5 separate regions of the Homo sapiens genome follow, and all the other regions are linked to region 5. Evidence: promoter capture Hi-C in human tissues and cell types (Jung and others, 2019). All regions are on one chromosome and are shown on one strand. The core of a region is centred on a gene start or on the middle of the fragment in contact, and the rest is flanking DNA. Distances in the headings are between cores, read along the strand shown.

Evidence for each region. Contacts are between HindIII fragments. The study calls those that stand out against the background at their distance.
Region 1: a fragment that was not itself captured here is called in contact with the fragment with the promoter of CABLES1 in region 5 in 1 of the 25 tissues and cell types used here (IMR-90 fibroblasts).
Region 2: a contact is called between the fragment with the promoter of ANKRD29 here and the fragment with the promoter of CABLES1 in region 5, in 1 of the 25 tissues and cell types used here (psoas muscle).
Region 3: a contact is called between a fragment that was not itself captured here and the fragment with the promoter of CABLES1 in region 5, in 1 of the 25 tissues and cell types used here (lymphoblastoid cells).
Region 4: a fragment that was not itself captured here is called in contact with the fragment with the promoter of CABLES1 in region 5 in 1 of the 25 tissues and cell types used here (dorsolateral prefrontal cortex).

The regions. Positions count from the first base shown.
Region 1 is chr18:23,705,701-23,708,400 of GRCh38, forward strand. The region is part of intron 1 of LAMA3 (laminin subunit alpha 3); the gene reads left to right. Among named protein-coding and RNA genes, the nearest start is that of LAMA3, 18 kb to the left of the region's middle. The HindIII fragment of the contact is 4,278 bases long and covers 1-2,700 here.
Region 2 is chr18:23,661,600-23,664,435 of GRCh38, forward strand. ANKRD29 (ankyrin repeat domain 29) reads right to left here and starts at 1,312. Exons shown (of 10, transcript NM_173505.4): 1 at 1,111-1,312. The coding sequence starts at 1,131. The HindIII fragment of the contact is 14,259 bases long and covers 1-2,836 here.
Region 3 is chr18:24,013,783-24,016,631 of GRCh38, forward strand. TTC39C (tetratricopeptide repeat domain 39C) reads left to right here and starts at 972. Exons shown (of 14, transcript NM_001135993.2): 1 at 972-1,256. The coding sequence starts at 1,090. It overlaps TTC39C-AS1 (TTC39C antisense RNA 1), which reads right to left and starts at 1,678. Exons shown (of 6, transcript NR_110796.1): 1 at 1,522-1,678. RefSeq lists silencers at 209-1,128, 1,209-1,388. The HindIII fragment of the contact is 6,499 bases long and covers 1-2,849 here.
Region 4 is chr18:23,827,294-23,830,161 of GRCh38, forward strand. It overlaps LAMA3 (laminin subunit alpha 3), which reads left to right. Exons shown (of 75, transcript NM_198129.4): 23 at 21-174. Among named protein-coding and RNA genes, the nearest start is that of LAMA3, 140 kb to the left of the region's middle. The HindIII fragment of the contact is 6,884 bases long and covers 1-2,868 here.
Region 5 is chr18:23,134,187-23,136,937 of GRCh38, forward strand. It overlaps CABLES1 (Cdk5 and Abl enzyme substrate 1), which reads left to right and starts at 1,299. Exons shown (of 10, transcript NM_001100619.3): 1 at 1,299-2,421. The coding sequence starts at 1,577. RefSeq lists silencers at 98-187, 198-307, 1,068-1,147, 1,268-1,477, 1,608-1,817 and 3 more and an enhancer at 498-647. The HindIII fragment of the contact is 17,284 bases long and covers 1-2,751 here.

The DNA.
Region 1 (2,700 bases), core at 49-2,548, 570 kb after region 5:
AGAGACGGGGTTTCACCATGTTGCCCAGGCTGGTCTTGAACTCCTGAGCTCAAGCAATCCTCCCACCTTGGCCTCCCAAAGTGCTAGGATTACAGGTGTGAGCTACTGTGCCTGGCCTATATATGTATTTTAAATAGTAATAAGCATTCATGAACTTGCTACCAAAACCAAACATAGAGCTTGGATAATAATTTATGTCTAAATGTATGGTCTGCCCACCCCCATTCCCTCTGTCTCTTACATTCTGGGGAAATAATCATCCCAAATCTTTTATTAATACTTTGCTTTTTTAGTATAGTTTTTATTACATCTGTACGTATTTCGAAAAAGTAGGTGCTTTTTATTTTGCTTGCTCATAACTTTATAAAAAGTATATCATGCTTTTTTCACTTAATATTATATTGCTGAGATTCATCAATATTGTTTCATCCATATTGTTTCATTGTATATATTCATTTACTCATTATTGCTTATATAGTTATTAATTGTGTGAATATACCACTGTTAGTTCATCCACCCTCCTGTGGCTGGGCAATTAGGTTATTCCCAGGATTTTGCTCTTATGAACAGTGCTGCTGTGAATAGTGTTGAATATAATACCATCAAATTTGTGCAAGAGTTTCTTTTTGGTTTATGAGTTTGAGAGTAGAATGCCGTATCATAGGAAATGTGAATTTCAACTTTAGGTGGTAATACTAAAACAGTTTCCAAAGTTTTTGTACCAATTTATACTCCTACTATGTCTTTTCTAACTCTGGTTATCATCAAACTTTAAACTTGGGTCTACTGAATACGTATAAAATAATATTGCATTGTGGTCTGCCTTGATCACTAATGATGGTGATGGTGAACATTTCTTGAAATGCTTATTATGTTTATTGTGTTTATATGTGTTTCCTCTTCTGTGAAATGCCTACTTTTGCCCGTTTTCCCATTGAACTATTTATATTTTTCTTATTGATTTGTAGGATTGTTAGGAATTTGGTATGTATTTCTGTTGAGAGTTCTTCGTTGATTTTAAGTTCTTTGATCAGTTATTGATTCTTGTGTAATAAACTACCCCCAAAACTTAGGGGCTTAAAACAACAACAGTTTTGGCCAGGTGCGGTGGCTCACACCTGTAATCCCAGCACTTTGGGAGGCCAAGGTGGGCGGATCACCTGAGGTCAGGAGTTCGAGACCAGCCTGACCAACATGGAGAAACCCCGTCTCTACTAAAAATACAAAATTAGCTGGACGTGGTGGCACATGCCTGTAATCCCAGCTACTCAGGAGGCTGAGGCAGGAGAATCACTTAAACCCTGGAGGCAGAGGTTGCAGTGAGCCAAGATCGCACCATTGCACTCCAGCCTGGGCAACAAGAGTGAAACTCCGTCTCAAAAAAAACAAAAACAAAAACAGTTTTTTCTCTCACAATTCTGTGGGTTGACTGGGTTCAGCTGGTTGATTCTTCTGCTCCATGGGTTGTCAGTTGGGGTAACTCACTTAGTTGCATTCAGCTGGTGGCTAGGATGGACTGGATGGCCTAAGAAGGCCTCGCTAACATACAAGGTAGCTTGGTGCTCTCCCATTTGTCCTCTCCAGTTGGCTATTTTGGACTTTCTCACAGAATGGTGATTCTGGGTGGTTGGACTTCTTGCCTGCTGGCTTCCAAGAGGAAGGAAGCAGAATCTTCTAGCCCTTTTAAGGCCTAAGCTTGAATGTCCCAGAATGACACATCTGCTATAACAAAGCAAACAATCAAGTCAGTCTGGATTCAAGAGCAGAGACTAGCCTCCAGGGCAAACAGCATCCACCTTTTGATGGGTGAAATGGCAGGCACAGAGAGAGAGAGAAGGAATTGATGGCAGTCATCATTGGAGACTATTTATCACTTTTGCATTGTAAATATCTTCTAGTTTTAACTTTTCACTTTTTAAAGGTGTCTTTGATGAAGCAAACTTCTTTATACATATTTTATTTATTTATTTATTTATTTTTCGTAGAGACAAGGTTTCACTATGTTGCTCAGGCTGTCACCAACTCCCTGGGCTCAAGGAAACAAAATTCTTTTTTTTTTTTTTTGAGACAGAGTCTTGCTCTGTCGCCCAGGATGGAGCGCAGTGGTGCAATTTCAGCTCACTGCAACCTTCACCTCCCAGGCTCAAGCAATTCCCGTGTCTCAGTTACAGGCATGTGCCACCATGCCCAGCTAAAGGAAGCAAAATTCTTAATTTTAACATAGTCAGATTTATCCATCTCTTCTTTTGTAGTCAACGCTTTTTGTATCTTTGGTTAAGAAACCTTTCCTTGCTCTCAGTTCTAAAAGGTAGACACCTTTTTTTCTACTATGAGAGTTTGAAGTTTTATTTTTCACATATAAGTCCTTACTTCATCTGAAGTTGAATTGCATTTGCGACTTGAGTAGAACTCTGATTTTATTATTTCCCCCTGGATCTAGAATATTCCTTCCTTTCCCAGCGGTCTGACATACCACCTATGTTATATACTAAAGCTTCTTAAATGCATGGGCTGCCTGTTCTGTCCGATAGGTCTGTTTGTCTCATTTTGCCTTTCCTTAATTACAATAGCTTCATAATAAGCCCCGATTCCTTGAAGGGCAAGTTTCCTCCTCCCGGTCTTCTTCTTCAGCAATATCTTGGTCCTTTAAAGTTTCATATAAATTTTAGAATTATCTTACTGTACTTTAAGAAAGTCCTT
Region 2 (2,836 bases), core at 62-2,561, 530 kb after region 5:
CTGGAGGGTAAGGAAGGAGAAATAGCTTGAACCCGGGAGGCGGAAGTTGCAGTGAGCTGAGATCACACCATTGCACTCCAGCCTGGGCAACAAGAGCAAAACTCCGTCTCAGGAAAAAAAACTTTAAAGTCATTCACATTCGTCTGCTTCGTTCCATTCTCACCACCTATGCACTGGTCCAGTACCATTTCTTAAAAAGATGACAACATCTTCCAGCTCCAACCCTCTTCTCCAAACCTAGCCAGAGATCTTTGCAACATGCACATCTCGCCATGTCACTCCTCTGCTTACATGAGCTATTGTCGGCAACGGGATTACAGTGGCTTAGGAGTCAGACACACTTGGGTTTCAGTCTTAACACCATAACTTATTGGCTGCAAAACCGTGGGTGAGTTAATTTCTCTATATCTTAGTTTTCTCATTTGAAAAAAAAAAAAAAAAGAGCCACGAAGAGCACCTCCCACAGGTCTCCCCCAGGGTTGAGACCATACACACCATGTCCTTGGTTCAGAGTCAGGCACATTTGAACTGTTTAATACATTTTAACTGCTATTTTTATTAAACCCTTTCAATCGAGGCAAATCAACCTCTTTCATCCTAAAATGTGGGGATTAGATGGAATGACTTTAATCAACTCTTTTGAGACAAGACACCTTTGGACCCTGAAGCCTCCCTGGGTGCTGGCCACCCCTCCGGGGAGGAGGCATCCGTGGGTGCAGCTGGTACTCCTGCATGAGGACCCAGAGGGTCAGGGTCGGGGACTCCTTCTGCTGCAGGACAGCGCTGACCCCAGGCTTCTTACCCGCCCCCGACCTGTTACCCGGCGACAGTCCCCGCCGCCCCGTCGCCGGGCACAGACTCAGCCGATCCACAGCCATGAGTGCGAAGCCTCTCAGGCAGGGCAGGCAGGCAAACCGCAAACCCACAGGGCGCACCCAGCCCCGCCGCTTCCTCCCGGGCCTCGCCCGCAGCTGGAGGAGAGAGGAAGGAGGAGGCGGCGGGCAGCGGGCAGCGCCCACCCCATCCCACCCCATCCCACCCCACCCGACCCCGCGGGCCCGGCCGCCCGAGCCCGGCCCCAGCCCTGACCCCGGAGTCCCGGTCGCTCACCTTGAAGGACATCCTGCACATGTCCGCGGCCGCCCGAGCGGGAGCCGGCGCGCTTTGGGCCCGGGGCGCCTTGTCCTCCCCGGCCCTTCACTCTCCCGGGGCTCTCGGCGTTCCGCAGAGGGGCGGCCTCCGACGCCGCGCGCTCCCGCCGCCCGGCCCGGCAGCAGCCGCCGCACACAGGGCCGGGCCGAAGGGGCGGCGCGGGGGCGCGCGCGCGCGCACACTACACATGGGGTGTCGCGTGGACGCGCTCCAGGACCTGCCACACACGCGCGTGCACAAACACCCCAAACTCCGCACGCACTGTGCACTTTCCACACACGTCCACACTTCCACACTCACTCGTCCACACACACACTCCAAACTCCACACACATTGTGCATACGCTCCACATTCCACACACACAGAGGTTCCACACACATACTTTCCACACTCACGCCCACTCACCCGCATGTACTCACACACAAACTCCATACATATCCTCCCAAATAGACTGGTCTGCCCCAGAGGACTCCCAACCTTCATTACAGCACAAATATTATAATGATGTAAAAATGAAGCTTGAGGAAAAAATTCATCCAATAGCTATTTTCGTTATAATTTCTTTCTCGGTTTCCTGGGAAACTTTTTTCTCCTGGGGAAAATATCTAGGAAACAAACCTTTTGATTGCACAAACAATAAGTGGTCTTTTCCTCTTTGAAGGGCAAAGGCCAATTTTGGAATAGACTCATACCCCTCCTCCTCCTCCGCGTTATTAATCCAGCAGTTCCCTCCTCCTCTGGGTCTGATGCTGCAGCCCTGGAGTATTGCAGTATGTGTGTCCACTCCTGCTGCCTGCCCAGGATTGGTTTGGGCGAAGTAAAACTGGGAGTTTTAAGTATAAACGGCAACAACAGCTCTTTGAGAGCATTTTAGAAAAGTGAAAGTAAAAAAGTAGCCCAGGCATAGTGGCTCACGCCTATAATCCCAACTCTTTGGGAGGCCAAAGGCGGGCAGATCACTTGAGTCCAGGAGTTCGAGATCAGACTGGCCAACATGGCAAAACTCTATCTCTACTAAAAATACAAAAATTAGCCAGGCGTGGTGGTGCGCACCTGTAGTCCCAGCTACTCGGGAGGCTGAGGTGGGAGGATCGCTTGAACCTGGGAGGTTGAGGCTGCAGTGAGCCAAGATTCGGTCACTGCACTCCAGCCTGGGCAACAGAGCAAGACTCTGCCTCAAAAATAAAAATAAAAACAAAACAAAAAAATAGTATAAAAATGGAGGTCTTACCCCCTCAAACTATAAGAATCCACTCATTCATTCTCCCCCTCCTTCCCTCTTCTCAATTAAATTTGTAACGAATATTTAATTTAAAAGGTAGAAAACAATTACAAATAAAAGTTAATGATAAAAATTAAAATGTTTAACCTTCATGGATAAATTGTATTACTTTGTGCTTAAAACAACTTTAAATTAAAAACATTCTGAACTTTTATAGAAAATTCCAATTTTAAAAATAAGGACTCTAAACATTTTCCTTGCCTTGAGTGCCTATAAATGACACAGTTTTTAAGTTGCCACACAACGTTATTATATAAAAATCAAGCATCAGAGGTTTTGCTTTAATAGTTTTTTGTTTGTTTGTTTGTTTTTTCTTCTCAGATGGAGTTTCGCTCTTTTGCCCAGGCTGAAGTGAAGTGGCATGATCCTGGCTCACTGCAACCTCCACCCCCCGGGTTCAAG
Region 3 (2,849 bases), core at 12-2,511, 880 kb after region 5:
ATATTAGGCATCCAGATATCACCAGCCCATCATCAGAACAGTGAGACTTCTGTGATAATGGTTAAATTCAGTCACTTTTGATGTTTTGCTGACATTTGGTCATATGAACGCCAAAGCTTTGCAAGAATAATTGGCAGTGTGAGAATAGAACACACTTTGGCAGCTGAATTTATAACTTTTAAATATTTGGGCACATGGCATATAGGCCTCCATTTCTCCTCCTGCCCCACTGCGCAAATGTTGGTGGCGGGCTGGAGTGGGTGGTACCGGGATCCGAGGGGCTCTGCCTTGCAGTCCCGCAGCGCGGGGCTCCGGGGAGCTGCGGGGCAGGTGCCAGAGACCCCGCCCCCGCCGCCCACCTCCTCGGGAATTGGCTGCCCTGGTCCTAGGGGGCGGCCCCAGGGTCGGGATGAAGTCTGGGGTCGCGGGCGCGGGCTGCGTGGGGTTTCAGTTACTCGTGGAGTTTCAGTTACTCGTGGACAAAGCGCCGCGCGCTAGCATAGCGGCCCGGGCGGAGTTCCCCTTCCCTTTCCCTTTCCTTCCACATCCGCACGCTCGTTCTCCCTCCGCGCCTTGCCCTCCTCCCGACTCCTGGGTCCGGCCCCTTCGGGGGAGGGTGGGGCGCTCGGGTCTCCGGGTCTCGCGTGCGTGTGTCCGAGCAGTCCTGGGCGGTGGGCGAAGGCGCGGCTTGGGGACCCGGGAGGGGCCGGGGCGCGGGGGCTGCAGGAAGTGGAGGCGGCCGCCGCTCGGGGACCGGCTTGGCGGGGTGAGAGACACCCGGAAACGGATTCCGCTTCGGGGCCCGCGCGAGTTGGGTGCTTCGGAGGGCGCGAGAGGAGCGGGCGGGTGCTGCTGAGTAATCCCCGCGGCGGCGGCCGGACGCCCACCTCCCACGCCGCGCCGCAGCCGGGCCGCGGCTCCTCCCTCCGCGGTCCTTCCCTCCTCTTCCCTCCCGTCTTCTCCCCTCCCCTCCCCTCCCCTCCCGGCTCCGCTTGGCTCCGGGCAGGTAGAGCCGGGCTCCGGGCGCGCGCGGGGCCGCAGCAGCTGCTCCCGATCTCGCCTCGGCCCAGCGCAGGGCCTCGCACGCCCATGGCCGGCTCGGAGCAGCAGCGGCCGCGGCGGCGGGACGACGGAGACTCGGACGCGGCAGCGGCGGCGGCGGCGCCCCTGCAGGACGCGGAGCTGGCCCTGGCCGGCATCAACATGCTGCTCAACAACGGCTTCAGGGAGTCGGACCAGCTTTTCAAACAATACAGGTGACCCACGCGTCCCCGATTCCCCAACCCTGCAGCGCGCACCTCGTGTCCGGCTCACGCGCCTCGACCTGCGGCCCCCGGGAGCCCCCTCCCCCTCCTGTCGGTCACCGATTCCGGTCCTCAGGTCTCCTCCCTGGCAAGATCAGCCAGAGGGAATGCGCCTCTGCCACATCTCCTCGTCCACCCCCTACCCCCGGCTCCGTTGTCCTTTCCCTCCCGGGACCCGCCGCGCGCCCGCCCCGCGCGCCCGCAGTCCCCCTCTCACTTTCTCCCAGCCTCGCCCTCCCACAGACGTGCCCGGTGCCGGTAGGCTCCTCTCTGCAGGGCAGCTGGCTTTGGGACCGGATGAGATTTGAGGCAGCAGCGAGCCTGGGACCCGGGCTTGTCGTGACTCTGGCTCGCGTGCTGCCCCGGCAGCCTTTGTGACACGGAGCCCTCCGGCTGCCTGCTCCTCGCGCCTCGCATGGCTCTGCAACATTGTGCAATTCCAGACGCTTTTATTGTTTGAAAACAGATACGCACAATTGCTTTGCCGTGCAGGAATTTAAAAATTTCAGCTCAACTCTGCCCACTCATCTCTCTGCCTTGTCTTCTGCAAACTCAGTCCTCAAAATGAGTTCCTGATGTCTTTCAAGCAGGCGTTATTTATTAAGAATTTTTCCAACGTAAATAAAGGAAGGAAGAAAATGGAGGGATTTTTAAAAAGTATGAGAATGGTAGGAAAACACGTGTGTTCAGTTAATTTTTTATTTGTCTTTTAAAAAATAAAGCGAAAGAACTGAAACCTGGTAGTTTTCCTGTGGGAGTGGAAGGAACCTTCATTTCTTTGGGGACCTGGAGTGTTTGTTCTCGGGTTGAGGAAGCAAGTTTGTGATTTGCCGTCTGATTGTTGACGAGCCTTAAGGACGTTGATTAGCAGCTTTCCCCAACACGTTTAAGGACCACATGCTTCACGCTATGGAGACCCTGTAGTTTGGTTGGAATGAGAGGACCAATGTACAACTGTGACCGGGAGACAGAGTCTGTAAGAATGAGAATGCCTAAAGTCTCAGACCTCAGAGAATGGTGGTTTCTACCCAGCAGAGCTTCCACCTTCTTAATGGCGAAGCAAGTATCTCACAACTGTGAACTTTTCACTAAAGCCCTTTTACTTTTAAATCGGTGATTTTTTCCCCCCTTTGGTCTGAAAGTAAAAACAACTTCGCTTTACTTAGAACATTTCATTTTTAAAGCATACAGGTCTGGTTTCAAGATGGAGTTTCATCAAAGGCTGTTGATGGGGGATTTAAAAGGTTTACTTGTCACACAATTTCTCTTTTGTAGTTTTTAAGAAGCCCTCAGGAAAAAAGGTGTGAATATTTCCTGTACCGTGCTATGATTCCTTTTTTAGACTACCAGTTTGTGTCGTATGAGAGAAGGATGGAGATAGTTGTAGAGTCAAATTTACCCTTTTTAGTTGATGATTTAGGTACTTGCATGTTTAAGTACTTCTTGCTTTGAAGTCTCCTGTGATATTTATTTTAATGGTCTTTTTTAACCCTTCTTTAGTAGGCGAAAATACTACCTTTACATTGAAAGCATGAAATTTTTGCA
Region 4 (2,868 bases), core at 25-2,524, 690 kb after region 5:
TGTTGTTGCTGTTGTTGAAGTTGCTTACTCTACCAGCATTTGCCAGTGACCAGATTCCCCTGTACCCTGGCTTGTGAGGCCAGACACTTCCTGCTTGATGGGGAGCCAAGACCCGTGGCAGTGAGGCAGCCCACACCTGCACACCCTGTCATGGTGGACCTCAGCGGGAGAGAGGTGGGCCAGCCTTTTATTTATTATCAAAGTTATTACTACCTCCCCATCTGTATCTGCTAAAAATACTTGGCCACAGTTGCTTCTCAAATTCAGGGGAACCTGGAAGAATTTCTCAGAGGTGTTTATCAACATTTGCTGAACTATCTGATTTAGGGTGGGGCTGGATGGTACGCTACATGGAGCCATGTTCAGGTTGTTCTTTGAGCACTTTCTAGACATGGCAGGGGATGTGGGCATCTATAGAATCCTTTCTTTTTGGTTATCTGGACTTAGAAGGGGGCATCCTGTTCTACATGATTCAGGGCAAGATTTCTCTTAAAAGACAGATGAGACTCAATCTAGTAAGCGTCCAGAAATGACACAGCTTACCCTAAAAGGATACCACACTCACTGACTGTTCAACCCCTTAGGCTAAGCAATTTGTAGCAGCTGAATTCCTTGAGCTCAGAATCCGGAACTTCTACATCCCCTGGCACCTACCTCATGGCTTGGAGGACAGGTTACTACAGGTCTTGGTATTACTTTTCTTCCAGGAGTTCTTCGAACTTCAGAACCAAATTTAAGATCATACTGATTTCAGATTCGAGTTAGAGCTATAGGATATCAACCATAACAATAAGAATACACAACACTTCAAAATGAAGACACTGAAAGACTTCCTCCACTATATTTTTATTCTTTGCTCTCTGTAACATTCTCTGTTTTGTCCTTTTGAGGAAAATATTCATTTGGGGGATTAAATTTGTGGGATGAAAATATATGTGGAGTTAATTGTAACTGAACTTTTAGATGTGTACATTTTTGTAAACTACATTTCTAACATTTTGAAGGTAGCAGTTAAAGGTTTTTAAGTATATTTCTTAAGTAAAGTCTTCATTTTATTTGAATTTTCATGCTACGAAATAATATTTACTTGTAACAAGTAAAACAATATAGATATGCATAAAAAACCTAAATGATCTTCCCTCTACTTCATTCTAATACTAAGTTTGCTGTATCCCTCCCTACACATGCTATGTGTGTATACACACATACACACATACATGTATATAGGTGTACATACATACATATATACATAAAATGCACATACACGTACATATACAGGTATATGTATGTGTGTGTGTATTTGTGTGTGTGTGTTCCCTAGACAACAAGAGGTACCGTTGAGAAGGGGCAACCACCAGGAAGTGATGCTGATGACTCATCTAGGAGGTTCTAACCTCTGATTTAACCCAGAGCTATAGCACAGAGCTAGTCAGCAGGACCTCAAGGCTCTTTTACAATACGGAAATATTTTATTTCACTATCTCTGGTCTAGAAATTATCCAGCTTATTGATTCAGTTTAATTTATACTTTTAAAACTTTTCAATTGGCTCTTTATCATATTTATTTTTTCTTGTCTTTTCTGCCAGTTTTTGTTTCAAAACTTCATGTACTTTTAAGTGGAAGTTACTTCTTCATTTAGCTTTTTTAGTATCCTAAAGGCCTTGGAGCCAGGTGTATTTCAGAATTCAAAATTTTTAAGATTTGAAAAAAGATAACATCTCCAGTGAGGTCTGGGATAATACCCTATAATCAAACAGGTTAATATTTCTCCAGTGAAAAGCATGAATAGGCACACCTAGGGAGACACTAACTGACTATATACATAGACTTATATCAGTTTAGTTCAGACTTTGCCAGCAAATGATTATTGGTTAGGTTAGGTTTGCCACCAAAACAGTTACAAAACCTATTTCCTTTTCAGAGTTTGGGGATTTCAGATCATGGGCCAGTATATTTAAAGTCTTTCTCAGACTATTCCATAAAATTCACCTCATCTGAAGTGAACTCATCTCTGATTATTTTGTTACCTGTCTTTCTTAATATTCAATTTATGTGTTTTGAATTTTGTTTACAGGCATATTGGCTTATTTTGAATGAGAGGTTTTTATCCTCTCCTTCTTTCGCATCTGTTTCAGCCTGCTAATTTTGCATTGTCTTAGCTGTCCACTGGATCCTTAGCCCAGGAGCAGGCATTACAGTGTGCCTTCTCTATTGTTATGACACTGAAGATAGGAGATTCAGACATTGACCCCATGAATGGCATAGCTCAGTTCTTGGTCATGAGGCCACATATTTGATTTTTGGTTCCCAAATTCCATAGCTTCTTTTAAAAATTTATTTAGTTTTATATATTTAGGGGTACAAGTACAAGTTTCTTATATGCATATATAACATAGTGGTGAAGTCTGGGCTTCTAGTGTACCCATCACCCAAATAGTGAACATTGTACCTAATAGGTACTTTTTCAACACCCCCTCCCATCCCTCCACTTTTCATAGTCTCCAGTGTCTGTTATTACACTCTGTATGTCCATATGTACCCATTGCTTAGCTACCATTTATAAGTGAGAACATGCAGTATTTGACCTTCACACAGCTTCTTATAAATCCATAACCCAGGAGGCAGATTGGAAGCAATTTTTAGCTTCTTTTTAAATTTGAACATCCTTGTCTTCAAAAAATGTGCCTCGATCTGGCCGCTGTCTCCTATGGCACATGTTTTATTCTCTTAACTCTGCATGAGCTAAACTGCTGACCAAAATAATCTGCTTCCAGACCTAGAGGACAACAGGCTTGTGACTTCAGTCCTGGTGCCATTTTGGGTTTTTCTTTAACTTATGTTTTATCACCTATTACTTTTGATTCTAA
Region 5 (2,751 bases), core at 49-2,548:
TGGAATTTCAATGTAGAGTTACCCATTAGCTCCAGGGCTAAATTTAAACCTTTAATTAAATTAATCCGTTGATCTGAAACACATTGCTTCTCCCTCAAAAGTGCAGCAGGTTTCTTAGGTGTCACAGAGCTTAATTCAGTGTGGCAATTGTTCCTTACTGCATTTGTTAAGTTGCCCATACCGCCTGGGGAAACCCGCACACGTTTTCAGATCCCTCCAGGTGAACTCCTCCACCCTGTCCCCGCCCCCGCCCCCACCCCCAACCAAAACAAGCATTCGTTGTGGGTGGGGACTGCGACTCCTCCCAGATTCAGAGCTACTGCTCTGGGAGGGCCGTCAGGAACCCGTATTTATAGAAGACATGGTAGGTGCCAAACGTGCTTATGAGATAAACGACAGGGTAACTGTCCACATTGGTCCCAGTTTATGAGGGAGAAGAGATCATAATCTACAAAAATTTGCAAGGTGACCAGGGGAAAAGAGTGTAAGGTCATTTTAGCCCACCTGGGTCTTCACAGAAAATGGAGCACATTTCAGAGCCAAAGTAAAAAATTTGCGTTGTCCTTTGCTAAGAGAGAGATGAAAAGTGACAATACCATGGATTGGGGATGCGTGAGTTCGTTGGCCACATGTAAGATGTTCGTGCTTCTGGGCTCTTATGCATCCCAAGGCGTGCATTTATCCCGGGGGCTGCATCCTTGGCCTGGGAATGAATAGACCCAACTGCAATGGTTGTTAGCGATAGCTTTACGGTGGGACAGTCTCCATAGGGGCTGTGGACTTACCCGTGTTATTATGAAAAGGATCTATTTACTTCTCGGGGACCAACGGCCTTGCGGGGTCCAAGTAACTCGCTCGCAGTCCAAAACTCTGCAACGCTCCACATAACCGTCCTGTAGACCCACAACTCTCCCAGGAGCACAGCCCCAGGACCTAACCCACCGGGTTCTGCTCGCTCACCCAATTCCCAGTGCGAGCGCGCGGGGGAAACGTGCTCGCCTCCCGCACCTGGCTTCCGCGGCCCCGGGAGTCGCCAACTCTCCCAGCAGGCAGCTCCGACAACCCGGACAGCCGGGCCGATCCCCCGCCCCACCACCCGCTCGGCTCTCGCGTCCTCCTCTTCCTCCTCCCGTGGCCCCTTGCCTCCCGCCGTCTGCCTCTGCGGCCGCCGCCTGCGGCTTTGTTTTCCTCCCAGGTCGCATTCCCCACACGTGATTCCGTGTTATTGCAAAGAGGGCTTTGGAGCGCGAGCGCGGGGCGCGCGCACCTATAAATACGGACACCCGGCCCCGGAGCCCGCGAGCCAGCGGCCAGGCGACCGGCGGGCGGCCAGCCAGCGAGCCGAACTAGCCGAGCTAGGTAGCGAGGCGTGCGCGTGGGCCGGGGCGGCGGCGCCCCCATCCCCAGCACCGAGGGGCGAGCATGGCCCGCCCGCGGGGGGGCTGGACCGCCGCGCACGCCGCCCGATCCCCGCGCCCTACCCAGCCCGGGTCGCCGCCGCTCGCGCCCGCCGCTTAGCGCTCGGGCGCCGCTCGCTTCTCCGGGCATCGCGGAAATCCCGCCGCAGACGGACACAATGGCGGCGGCGGCGGCGGCCGCCACCACGGCCGCCTGCAGCAGCGGCAGCGCCGGCACCGACGCCGCGGGCGCCAGCGGATTGCAGCAGCCGCCGCCGCAGCCCCAGCCTCAGCCCGCGGCCGCCGCGCCGGCCCAGCCGCCGCCCGAACCCCCCCGGAAGCCGCGCATGGACCCGCGGCGCCGCCAGGCTGCCCTCTCCTTCCTCACCAACATCTCGCTGGACGGCCGGCTGCCGCCGCAGGACGCGGAGTGGGGCGGTGGCGAGGAGGGCGGCGCGGCCAAGCCGGGCGCCGGCGGCGCCTGCGGCGCGAGGACTCGGTTCAGCTTGCTCGCCGCTGCCGAGCGGGGCGGCTGCATCGCGCTCGCCGCGCCGGGCACGCCGGCTGCGGGGTTAGCCGCTGGGTCCGGCCCCTGCCTCCCACAGCCCTCGTCGCTGCCGCCCTTGATTCCTGGCGGCCATGCGACCGTGTCCGGCCCCGGGGTGGCGCGGGGGTTCGCGAGTCCCCTGGGCGCCGGCCGGGCGTCGGGGGAGCAGTGGCAGCCGCCCCGGCCGGCGCCTCTCGCCGCCTGTGCCCAACTGCAGCTGCTCGACGGGTCCGGGGCCGCCGGGCAGGAGGAGTTGGAGGAGGACGATGCCTTTATCAGCGTGCAGGTGCCGGCGGCCGCCTTTTTGGGCTCCGGGACCCCCGGGAGTGGGAGCGGCAGTCGGGGACGCCTCAACTCGTTCACTCAGGGAATCCTGCCCATCGCCTTCTCCAGGCCGACTTCGCAGAACTACTGCTCCCTGGAGCAGCCAGGCCAGGGCGGCAGCACCAGCGCCTTCGAGCAGCTGCAGAGGTCCCGGTGAGTATCCGGGATGCGACGCGCACCCAACCCTGCGTCCCGCCCGGCGCTCCCAGCCTCCCCGCGGTCTCTGGGCTACGGGACACGGGTTGCTCCCATTTTCCCGCGCCCTGCCGGATCCTGTGCTCCGGGCCCGAATCCCAAACCACGAGGGCACCCAAAAGAGGGGGCGTCCCCAGGGAGTGCGGGGTTACACGTGTTTGCACGAGCCCAGCATTCGCAGAGGAGCACCGCGCTTGTGCAGTGGGTCGGGAATTGGGAGTTGCAGGAGCCCAGTAGAAAGCGGCGTCCGAGCCTCCCCACACGAGATCACAAACTTCCTGAAACCCG